2 separate regions of the Homo sapiens genome follow, and region 2 is linked to region 1. The links are contacts of gene promoters, found by promoter capture Hi-C in blood cells and fetal thymus (Javierre and others, 2016). All regions are on one chromosome and are shown on one strand. Each heading gives the region's core, a stretch centred on a gene start or on the middle of the fragment in contact. The rest is flanking DNA. Distances are from core to core; before and after follow the strand shown.

What was found. The method cuts DNA at HindIII sites, captures the fragments that hold promoters and counts their contacts. A CHiCAGO score of 5 or more calls a contact.
Region 2: a contact is called between a fragment that was not itself captured here and the fragment with the promoter of TSHZ1 in region 1, in 2 of 17 cell types (endothelial precursors and M2 macrophages). The highest score is 6.6, in endothelial precursors.

Annotation. Positions count from the first base shown.
Region 1 is chr18:75,207,962-75,213,525 of GRCh38, forward strand. TSHZ1 (teashirt zinc finger homeobox 1) reads left to right here and starts at 2,836. Exons shown (of 2, transcript NM_001308210.2): 1 at 2,836-3,955. The coding sequence starts at 3,916. PTGR3 (prostaglandin reductase 3) reads right to left here and starts at 1,178. Exons shown (of 2, transcript NM_175907.6): 1 at 889-1,178. The coding sequence starts at 1,097. RefSeq lists silencers at 652-827, 853-1,892, 3,830-4,149 and enhancers at 683-1,613, 2,653-2,947. The HindIII fragment of the contact is 17,256 bases long and covers 1-5,564 here.
Region 2 is chr18:75,475,466-75,481,262 of GRCh38, forward strand. LOC105372201 (a long non-coding RNA gene) reads left to right here. Exons shown (of 3, transcript XR_935637.3): 3 at 1-3,081. Among named protein-coding and RNA genes, the nearest start is that of SMIM21, 51 kb to the left of the region's middle. The HindIII fragment of the contact is 3,102 bases long and covers 93-3,194 here.

The DNA of each region.
Region 1 (5,564 bases), core at 1,586-4,085:
CCTTGCCAGTCAAGTCGGGCAGCCAGGGACCCACGGAGCAAAGACCTAAGCGGGCATGGCTCCGATAAAGAGTGAGGTCCGTTTCCTCCCTGTTGCTTCGCCAGTTACTAAAGATGAGTGAGGCGGAAACACGACGGTGGGGAGCGCGGGGAATGGAAAAGCCAGAAGGTCTCGCAACAACCCGGTGTCACCTGAATGTCTGCAAAACGTGCCGGCAAAGGCAGCCATGCCCCCACCCCGACCCTGGCCCAGCTGCCCGGGACACGCGCCACGCGGCGGTCGTTAACACTCAGGGGACAGACAACAGTCACACTGCACTGACAGCACGCAGACAACACCGGCGAGGTGCACACCCACACATCCAACGACAGGCTCCGCCACTGCGAGGCGGCTGCCAACCTGGAGGGAACAGGGAAAGCCAGCCGGGTCCCAGCCTCCTTCCTCCGAAGCACGTTTACCTAAACGTCGCAGTTTGCGTCCAGGCTGCTCCCGCTCCACCCTAAAGATTATGTCAACGCAGGAACTGTGGGTGCGCGCGGGCGGCCCGGCGGGGAGCCTCCCCTTCTGGGTCCCGTCGGTTTTATTTCGGGAGCGGGAGGGGGAGGAGGGAGGGCTGGAGGAGGGGAGGGGAATCCCAAATTAAAATAACCCTCAGTTATGAGGACGTTCGGTGGCATCGGATATTCACACCAGCAACAGTCACATCACATTCGCCTTCGCCAGATGGCGGCGGGTTCAACTTCCCGGGATCTCGCAAACTCAGGCTGTGCGCCCGAGCGCGCGCCGGAGTGTGGGCACGCGGGCGGGCTGGGGACTGCGGGAGCGGCGCGGCGCGGCGCGAGCCCGGGGCGAGAACGGGGGCGTGGGGTTGGGGGGCGCCGGGCTCACCGGTTCCGGACGAGGAGGTCTCCGTCCCCGGGGAGCGGCACCGGGCAGTCCCGGCTCAGGGTGACGGCCTCGCGGAAGTTGGGGCTCAGCCGGGTCACCACCAGCTTCTGCATGGCTTGGGGAATGGCGGAGCCCTGGAAGTCCAGGAAGTGGCGGGCGTACGACATGTCCACGATGGCCCGGGCCCCGGTGGGCACCAGCCGCAGCATGGCCTGCGCCTCCGCCCGCTCTCTGCGCCGACGCTGGCCGGGGTCGGCCCCCGCCCGGGCCGCTCGGCTCGGCTGTGCTCTGCTCGGCTAGGGCGGGCGGGTCCGCCCCTCCTCCGGCCGGCGCCCTCCCCCTGGCTCCCCCCTTCCCCGCGTCGCCCGCTCCCGCTCCCCCCGCCTCCCCGGCGCCGGCGCAGCCCCCGCGAACCCGGGCGCACCACCCCGGGTGTCCCGGCCTGGGGACCGCTGCCGCCCCGGCCGCTGCTCCTTTAATCTTTTTGTTTTGGTTTGAATCTGCTCGGCGCAGACTGGCCAAGGATCCTCTCCGCCCTCCCCCTTCCTCCTGGCGCGGGAGAGGCACCGGATATCCCCACCCTCCCCGAGCTCTAAAAGCCGGATTTGACTCCTCTCGGGCAAGGGTGGCGGGGGGGACGGCGGGCAAGGGGGGACGGGGGACTCGCGCGTCCCGCGGTCGTCTGCGGCCCCGAGCCGGCGGCAGCCCCGGGCGTCCCCGGAGCTGCGCGGCGGCCGGCGCAGGCGCCTCCCCTTCCCGTGCGAAGCGTTCACTTCCTTGCAAGGTGGTACGAATCAACCCCGAGCGCGGCCCGGGCGGCGGGGCACGACCGGGGACCCCGGGCAGGGCGGGGAGCCCCTGCCGCCGCTGCCGCACGCGCACCCGTACCGACCGCGGGGCGGGGAAATGTCCAGTGCCTCCCGCTCCCCAGGCTGGTGGCTTCCTGTCCCCGGAACCCCTTGCGCGTGCTTTCTGTCCACGGTCTGTCCCATGCAAGTTGCAGGAACTAAGCCATTTTATTTATTTTGGCCTAGATTTCATGTTTTTCCATGAATGTTTTAAGTAGATCTACAAGACTGTTACAGGTTTCCCATTGGGAGAGAACACACATATAGAAAACCAGAAGGCCAAATTCCCAGAGCACAGACACATTTTAAAGTTCTACGTGGGGATGCCGAGGGACTTAACTGAATTGGAGACGTTGCACTGCTGTGTGAGGACCTCATTTTCGAACCCAGCTAGAAAGATCTGTCGTTCCATCGTGTCCGTTTTCTCCCTACTGGCGTGCATGGACCAAATGTCAATTCACTTTTTATAGAGGGGCCAAATTAAATATTTCCACACTTTTCTGTGATGAACTAAGTCCATCTTTACATTTTTATTTAAATTGTAAAATTTAATTTTAAAAATATCTTGCTTTTCAGTTACCCACGAATTACCAAAATATAAAAGCTACTCTGGGCTCCTCCCCAGCCAAATCTAACCCCCCAACCTGAGATTGCAAAAGCGACACAGATATTTTTCCCCCCAAATGTAGGACATGCTTCACCCAAGGGTAGTTTGGATGCACGTGGTTGCGTGTGTATGAATGTGCAAGTGTGTGTATGTGTATGTGTGTGTGTTGGGGGGGAACTAACAGGTTTAAAAATCTGCAGGAACTAATGTCTACTTAACTTAGAGCATATGGGTTTTACCCGGTATCAGCCAGTGGGTTACAATAACAACACTGAATGAATTCCTCCAATGTACAATCTTTTATGTTATGCTGTATTAAGATTTCTTTTTTTTGTCATATTGTTTAGCTCCGAAAAAAAGAAAACAAAGCAATTAAAAAGATTGACAGGTATGGTTTGTGAGAGACCTATTTGTAATTGTCAGGGTGACGTTGGCGAGAGGAGGAGGAGTAAAAACTGAAGCAGGAAAAGCAGCTCGATGTGTCTGTCTATCAGTTGAGACTGTCTGAAAGCTCTGCGATCCGAATGTGTGTTATATTTCACTGAAAAGAGGAGAGAGCGAGAGTGCATCTCCCTCTCTCCCAGGAGTTTGAGGGGGGGGGGGACAGTCCACGCTCATCTCGCCCACCCAGTGAATGTCTGCTCTTCACCCCCTTTGCACACACTCTCCGGGTTGTTGTTGCCTTTTTTTTTTCTTGGAGGGGGGGGTGCTTTTTGTGTATTTTTCAAATTTTTTTCTGTTGGAAGATCAAGACCGGCCAAAAATCCATGATCAAAATGTGTTTGCATTAGATTTCGCATTGGAAGAAGCGGCGATCCTGGCGGCCAAGCCCCCCGGGTGGAAGCGCGGGGCACCAAGTGGCGCTCCGGCGGGGTGACACTGTTTGATCTGTGACTGTTTGGAAGGTGGAGCAGCGCCTGACATCTCCCCCCGGCGCATGTATGTACGGGGGCTTCACTCCTCTGTCTTGTTTGCTTTCTTCCTCTTAGACTAAGTGCGGGGAGGAAAAGGACAGCCTGCATCGGCCTCGCTGGCGCACAATGAGAAAGCTGCGACCCGCGCACTAAAAACACTCGCCGCGACCCCCAAACAGCGAGGAGAGAGGGGGAGAGAAAGTTGCGCTCGGCGACTCTCGGCTCGCGGAAGAAGGCGCAGGGGAGCGCCCGGAGCGGCGCGCCGGGAGGAGCGCCCGCCCAGCAGCAGCGCGGCGGCGGGGAGGCGGCAGCATGGAGCGCGGGCCGCGGGCCGGCCCGCCGAGCGCCCGCTGCTGCGCCCGCGGCCCGCGCCGGGGATGACTCCGGGCTCGGCGCCCAGGCCCCGCGCGCTCCGCCCGCAGCCCGGCGCCGGGAAGCGGGCCGCGCGGCCGCCGCCGCCGCCTCCTGAGCGGCCCCGGGCGCGGCGGTCCATGCGAGCGGCTCCCCGCGGTCCGCGGCGCGCCCGGAGCCCGGAGCCCGCGGGGACGAGGCCAAAGTTGGGCGCGCCGCGGAGTTGCGCCCGCGCCCGGGGCCCCGCGTCCCCGCGCCCCGCGAACTCCGGCGGCGGCTGAGGCGACGGCTGCGGCGGCCGAGCAGCATGCCGAGGAGGAAGCAGCAGGCCCCCCGGCGCTCGGCAGGTAACGGGCGCGCGGCCCGCGCCGCGGGGAGTGGGCGCCGGGAGGAGCAGGAGGAGGGGGCTTCGCGGGCCGAGGTGCGGGACGTGGGCCGCGGGCCGCCCCAAGCTGGGGAGGGGAGGCCCAGCCTGCGCTGGCCACAGTCGTCTGGAGGCTGCGGTCGCCGTCCTCCCCCACACCCCCAACCTGGGCCGGCGCGTGGAGCAGAGAAAGTTCGCGGTGCTTCTCTGCGCTGCGGGAAGCCCGGATGGCCGGGGGAGGCCGGGGGCCGCGGGACGGCGGGTGCTTCTGGCTACCTCAGGAGGGGGCGTGCGCTGAGGGGAAGTAGTTGCTCCTTGGCTGCCGGAGCGCACTGGAAAAGTCCTCCAAAGGCGGGGAGGCTGAACCTGACACTTGAAAACAAGGTCACCAGGCTGGGACGCAAAGAATGTGTTCAGAAGATTTCTCTGGAAAACAGCAGCCTTTAATGTCCTGTGCAAGAGGCCCCCCGCCCCCACTTTTTTTTTATTACCTCTAAAGATGTCTTTTGATCAGGCCAGCACAAGGCAGTGATAGTGCAGACTCTGATTGAACAGAAAAGTTATTTTTCTCTGGAGGAGGAACTGGCAGGAGCTGGTTTTCCTTGTTTTCTGTTTTATTAGAGGATTGCCATCCTTGATTTGATGTGTGATTGATCGCCTGTCATCTGGCAGCCTTTGATCTATTCATTCCTGATAAACATCAATAAATCACTCACCATGGAAACACACATGCTCCTGACAGCTCCGCCACTATCAGGGCAACTTTTCTCTCTCGCTCCCCCTTTTGCTGCTCCATTTTAATTTTGTCTCAGAAGTTTTACAGCTGCAGCATCCCTTAACTCAGCTCACCTACTAATCCATTGCTAAACCTGGGGTGGGTCAGCTGCCGTGCGTTTTTGAGCACAGGTTTGAAAATAGCCCAGTGATTCTGCTGCCTGCTCAAGTCTTGTCTCAGTTTTGGACATTGCGTTTGTGGGGCTGAGAATGCAACCCATATGCCAGTGAGTTATCGCTAAATAATAGAGTAAATCAACTCTCTCCAAGCTCTTAGGGTAAAAATATTAGAAGGAGTGTTTTATGTTTAAACATGAGCGACTCTTTAGCTGTTGCAGTACAGAATAGAATCTGAATAAGTTTGAGTATCACATTCAGTAATGTGCACGTGTTCAAGTCTTTATACGTGCTTTTTCTGGGGAAGCACTTAAAGCAGAGATTACTGCTACTAAAAAAATTTGGGAATAGTATCTACGTTTATGAATGGTTCAGTAAAATAACCTCATCATTTCCATTAGATCACTGATAGAGATGCTCTCAAAGAGTTGAAGGAGATTACCTTATGCTGAGTATTCACAACATAAAAGGAACAGAATGGAGAATATTTATTTTGGAATAACTTTGAGTAATGGAGGAAGAAACCTTTCAAAGAGAGTATCTATGCCACTGGTAGCCCCCAAATAATATAGCTCAGTGTCTCAAGATATTCGCCACTTGCTCATGCTAGAAACAAGAGGTCTTTACATTTTCACAGTTAGAGGGATTTTTTTTTAAATGACAGAATGTACAATAAAAAGTTGTGTTCAGAAAACTACTCC
Region 2 (5,797 bases), core at 394-2,893, 270 kb after region 1:
GTAATACTGTCTTACAGATGCTCTTCAACTTTTATTGGTCACGATTTGTTTCCCTAAGATTTGTATGCCTTTCAAATCTTCAAAGTTAGTGAAGCTTTCTTCAGCCAGGATTCATCTGTTTATAGAGCAGAGTGGGTGGCTTTTGGAAAATACTTGACATGTTATAATATTGGGCTGAGGAGTCACACGCCACTATCCAAGTTGTCATTGAATGTGCATTTCCTCTTGGGAATGGAGTCCTTAAAACTTTGAGTCCTTTACCAATAGCAAAAATTAGCATCCCTTAACATTTTCACCTGCCTTAACATTGTGGCCTCTGTTCTGCAGACTTCAGCTATTAAGTCAGTTTATTTTTCCCCGACATTATAAGCTACACGCTTCCCACTCACTTCTATCCTGTCTAGCAAACACACTAGTCTTTTCGGTTACTACTTTAAATCACAATGAAAACTATGGTTGTGTATTCACATGCAACTATGGCGTGTGAGTTGATCCCATCCTCTGAGCCCAATCTGTGTGAAGGAAAATGTTTCTCATTAGGAAACCACTTCGTTGTGATCCTTTGGAACCATTTCTAGCTTGTACAAATTATTCAAAATAGACATCTTTCCTTTCCCTGGACTCCACCCCGGCCTTGTCTAGCTTTCTGGTGCTTCCAGAAGTTAAACAAGCAGATGTTATAAACAAAAACAAACAAACAAACAAAAAGCAAAACAAACAAAAAAATAAAAAATAAAAAACATGAAAGACAAAAACAAAAAGAAAACCACTACCATGAATAAATTTCATCTTCTGTGCATTTCTGTTAAAATTTATAAATTTTATATTCTCCATTAAATCTGTGAAGATAATACCCAACTATGTAAACACATTGATATTCGTGGATTTTAAAGAAAATTCTAACAGTACTGACTACTTAAAGTACAGACTTAAAACTGTAAAATTATCCTGACACTTGAGGCTAAAGAACATCTTAGTAAGTGATTTGCTGTGTCTGTTAACATTTTGTGAAAATTTGTAGATGTGTACACTATGTTTGGGTTTGAAGCACTTTCTCACCTCTAACTTTTTTCCTTCTTCACCCCCTTAATCACAGACACAGGAATGCAGCTGCCCTGTGTGTGTCTCCTTCATCCTGCTGGGGACAGGCACGGGCAAGGAGAGCTCAGGGGTAACACACGGGCATAATTGGGGTCTGATGAAATAGGCTAATCATGGATCCACTAAGCAAATATTAATTTTCATTGGAAGCCCTGCCATTTTGTGAACTTATAAGAAATAAACAGAAGTATTGTTAGCCTCAGGATGTATCTCTTTTCTTTAAGAAAAAAGAAACCCATTGATAAATGTCTCTGAAAGGCTAACTCTCACCACTTCATGCTCTTCTAATGCTTCTGCACTGTCCTATGTGAGGCTTGAGTGATGTGGGTGTGCCACTGAAGGGCCGTGGGTAGGAGCGGTGTGTTTTCTGAACACCTGTTACACCTTTATTACCCAGTTCTATGAAAACATGTATAACATAGAAGCAAAGCACTCATGCTAAAGATCGCTTCTGCTGATCCTTGCTGCCAAGATCTCCCTTACGGTCCTCAGCGTCTCTTCCCTTGACCAGGTTCTTCCTGTCTTCTTGGGCTGCTTTCTCTGTATTATTTTTCTCTTCTTCTTCCAGCTTATGGAAACCATTCCTACCACAATTTTCTCTTCTAAATTTGGTTTGATAAAACCAAATACTTTTCATTGTTTCACCTGCAGTGATCTTTTTCTTAGACTTTTGCATTTTGCATTCTTTTAGTTTTAGTATCTGTACTGGCATTTCTTATATAGAGGTCCTGTTCACACCATGCCCACATTCTACAGTGGATTATACACTTTGAATATCAAGCTCCAGCTATATGAGGTAGTTTGGGATTATTGAAAGGACACCAAGAGGCAGAATGGCCATGTAAGTTATTGTTCAAGTCAGGATACTTTTGAGAGTTAAAAAAGGCAAGTTAACAACATCACACCACGGATGTAACTGGGACAATTCCAGCCAAGAACTGAGATGGTCCTTTCTTTCCTCCTCTCCCACCCCATTCTCCTCCTTGTCCTCCTTCTTCTTCCTCCTCTTCCCCATCCTCCTCTACTGCCTGTTCATAGGGGAAATATACGTCTGTCTGTCTGTCTATCTATCTATCTATCTATCTTTCTATCTATTATCTATCCATCTCCCAAATGCAAACACTGAATCACTAGTCAATAAGTCTCATTATAAATGTTTGATGCTAGCCCAATGCTGGGCTCACTTTCTAAACTCCTAGGTAATTCCACAACAGAAAGAAATAAGATTTCAGGTATTATTTTATGTTTCTTATAATATTATCAGTATAGGATACTAGTTAAACTGTGGAGACACAGAGACAAATGGAGACTAGTCTGAATAACCTGGAGACAGTCCTCTCTCACAGCAAAGTAAAATCTGGTTTGGTGGTTCTGCTTTGCAAAGTTATGACGGGCTCAAGCTCTTCCTACCTTTTTGCCTCACTCTCCTGACCTGTTGTCCTCTCCACATAGCCCCAGATGACTCACCATCATATCCACATTCTAGCCAGTGGGAAGGGGAAATGGAGTTGGTAAAAGCATGTTCCTCTTTCTCTTGTGCACTGCAACTCTGCACAGTCCATCTGTTCTTACCCCATTGGCCAGAATGCAGTCACCTTGCTTCTACTGGCTGCAAGGAAGGATGGGGATTGTAGTTTTTCCCATGAGAACTCATATACCCAGACTAAAATTGGTAACTGTATTATCAAGAGAGAGTGGGAGCAACTTGGGGACATTGACAGTTTCTGTCACACTTAGCAATATGATGTACTCATAGAGGGATACACAATTCTTGCTGTTGTTGCCTATTGATAACTTCACTGTGTATTTTCTGGTCTTCAGTTTACCATATTGTGATATATACTGTGTACATGTATAGGGACTTCATTACTTTCACTCAAAAGCTCCAATAAAGAATCATGCAGTCTAGGTGCAGTGGCTCACACTTGTAATCCCAACACTTTGGGAGGTCAAGGCAGGAGGATCGCTTGAGGCCAGGAGTTTGAGACCAGCCTGGGCAACATAGGGAGACCCAATCTTTACAGAAAATAATAATAAAAAGAATCATGCAAATCTCTAATTGTGGAAGTGTTATTTTAGCAAACTACATGAAAAGCTTACGGGTTATACCATTCATTTCCTTACCATGACATTTTATTTAATTTAACTACAAAATCTCAAAGAGTCTAATACTTTCTGATGCTCTTTTCATTTTGTGCCTTTCACATTATAATTTATAGCTTAAAGCCACCTTTCTCAAAGTCTAAAAATCTGTTAGTCAATTTTTCCCTTTTTATAACCTTTCCATATATTCTGTCATATTAAAGAGATGATGAAGCCCATTATGGCCATTAGAATTCTGATGCAATTAAGTTTTATTCCACTATAAGTGACAGGTACTTGATTCCTTCTTGGAATGGGATAATTTTCTACAGGCCTGCAACTCTTACACCCTCGTTAATTTGCAAGGCTGTTTTAGAAAATATGTTGTCAGTGCTGAATGAGGTACATCTCTAACTTTGAACAAATCATTGTCTTAATGTTCTTCAGGTTATAACATCCATTTAAAGAAAAACCTCACCATTGTCCCCAGGAGAGTCAATAAAAATGCTTCTGTGCTTTGTTTGTGGACACTTAAATAATAGGAGAGCTCCCCCTACTGATTGACGTTAGGGAATTATGGAGGAGGGGCTAATCTCAGGCCTTTCGCTCTTGTTAATTTCTCTAATGCTCATGCACAGACCAAGATGAAAATCAAAAGCAAGCCTGTTTGACACTGGCTTTTGAAATGCTTAAAAACATCAGCATTTGTCAAGTGGAAAGATTTTCATTTCAAAGTTCTAACAGGTTATTATTATTCCAAGCAATGGAGAGTTAAAAAAGGTTGAACAACTATAATAATGGTGGCATCTAAGTGTGGGGAGTGATCAGGTGTTATTGTTTGTTTGCATAAAATGATATCACCTAGCTTTGTGTTGGGTTTGTTTAAGAAATGTAGGCTAATTAGGCCATACAAGTAACTTTGTTTTCTGAAAATTAATTAAGCTTTTGTGGCCTTACCAGGTTACAGGGCCAGGCTCACCTCCCACACAGTTGCTCTGGAGCTATGTAGGAGGCAAGCCTGTCTCACGCTGAACTGCCAGGTGATGCCGTCACGGGAAGAATGGAGTTTAGTAATGCTGCATTTGAAGTCTTGTTCAAGTCGTAAAATGTTGGATTCTATTTTTATTAAATCGCTTAAACTTTCAACATAGTGAAAAAGATTTATTTAACATACATTTCACAGGCCTTTTTGAATGCATATTTTTTGGGAAAAAATACAGCAGAGGACATTTCTATAACTAAAGCTACTGTCCTGAAGGGACAAAACAAGCGCGTTAACTATTGAGGTCCTATTGTTTCATCAGGCCATCGGCAGAAACATTGAAAATGTTGTATTTGTAGGGTTATGAGGGAGCTCTACCCATCTCCTTCAAGTAAGACAGACATAAATCCTCTTTATGATTCGAGAATATCGTATAGAATCTACATAAAGTCTTAGAGGCTGTAGAGAAATAGGTTTTATTGTAAGAACCCCCAAGTAGAGAAACCAAACCAAGCATCTGGAGAAGCATATGATGTAGTGAGCTTGACAAAAAAATGCCTCATCTATAGGAAGAAGGACTGTTTTTAGCAACCTCCTTTTTGTATCTGAACACTTTTTTAAAACAGCTCTATTGAGATGTAATTTACATACCATAAAATTCTCCCATTTAAATTATACAGTTCAATGCTTTTAATATATTTACAGAGTTGTGTAACAATCATGATCTGATTTTGGAACATTTTTCATCACCTCCAAAAGAAACCCCATGTCTATGAGGTGTCACTTCTTATCACCCCCTCAATCTTCAACCCCGTACCCATTAAAAGTCACTCCCTATCACCCCCCTCAATCTTCAACCCCAGCCTCTGAAAGTCACTTATCTGCTTTTGCCTCCATGAATTTACCTCTTCTGGACATTTAATATAAATGGAATAATAATATTTGATCTTTTGTGATTGGCTTTGTTTCATGGCATAATATTTGAGGTTTATCCTTGTTTTAGCATGTATAAGTAATTCATCTTTTTTTGCCAAATAGTATTCCATTGTATGGGCATACCACATTTTGTTTATCCATTTATCAGCTGAAGGACATTTGGGTTGTTTACACTTTTTGGCTGTTACGAGCAGTAGCTGCCCTCGGTCTTCATCCAGAAGTCTTTGCAGGGACATATGTTCTCATTTTCCTTGGGTAGTTACTTAGGAGTGGAATTTCTGGGACATATGGTGACTCTATATTTAACATATTGAGGAACTGCCCAAATGTTCTCCAGTGTTTCTGCACCTTTTTACATTCCCACCAGTAAGGTGGGTTCCAATTTCATCACATCCTTACCAACCTTTATTATTGGCTTTTTGATTATAGCTATTCTATTGGATGTGCAGTGGAATCTTATTGTAGTTTTGATTTGCATTTCCCTAATGAGTAAGGACATTGAATATCTTTTCATGTGCTTTTTCGCCATTTGTATATCTTCTTTGGAGAAATGTCTGTTCAAATCATTTGCCTGTTTTATGACTGGGTTATTCTTATCATTATTGTGTTATGTGAAGTTGCTTTTATATACTTTGGATACAGGTCTTTTATCAGATATATAATATTTTCTCTAATTTTATGGGCTGATATTCCAAT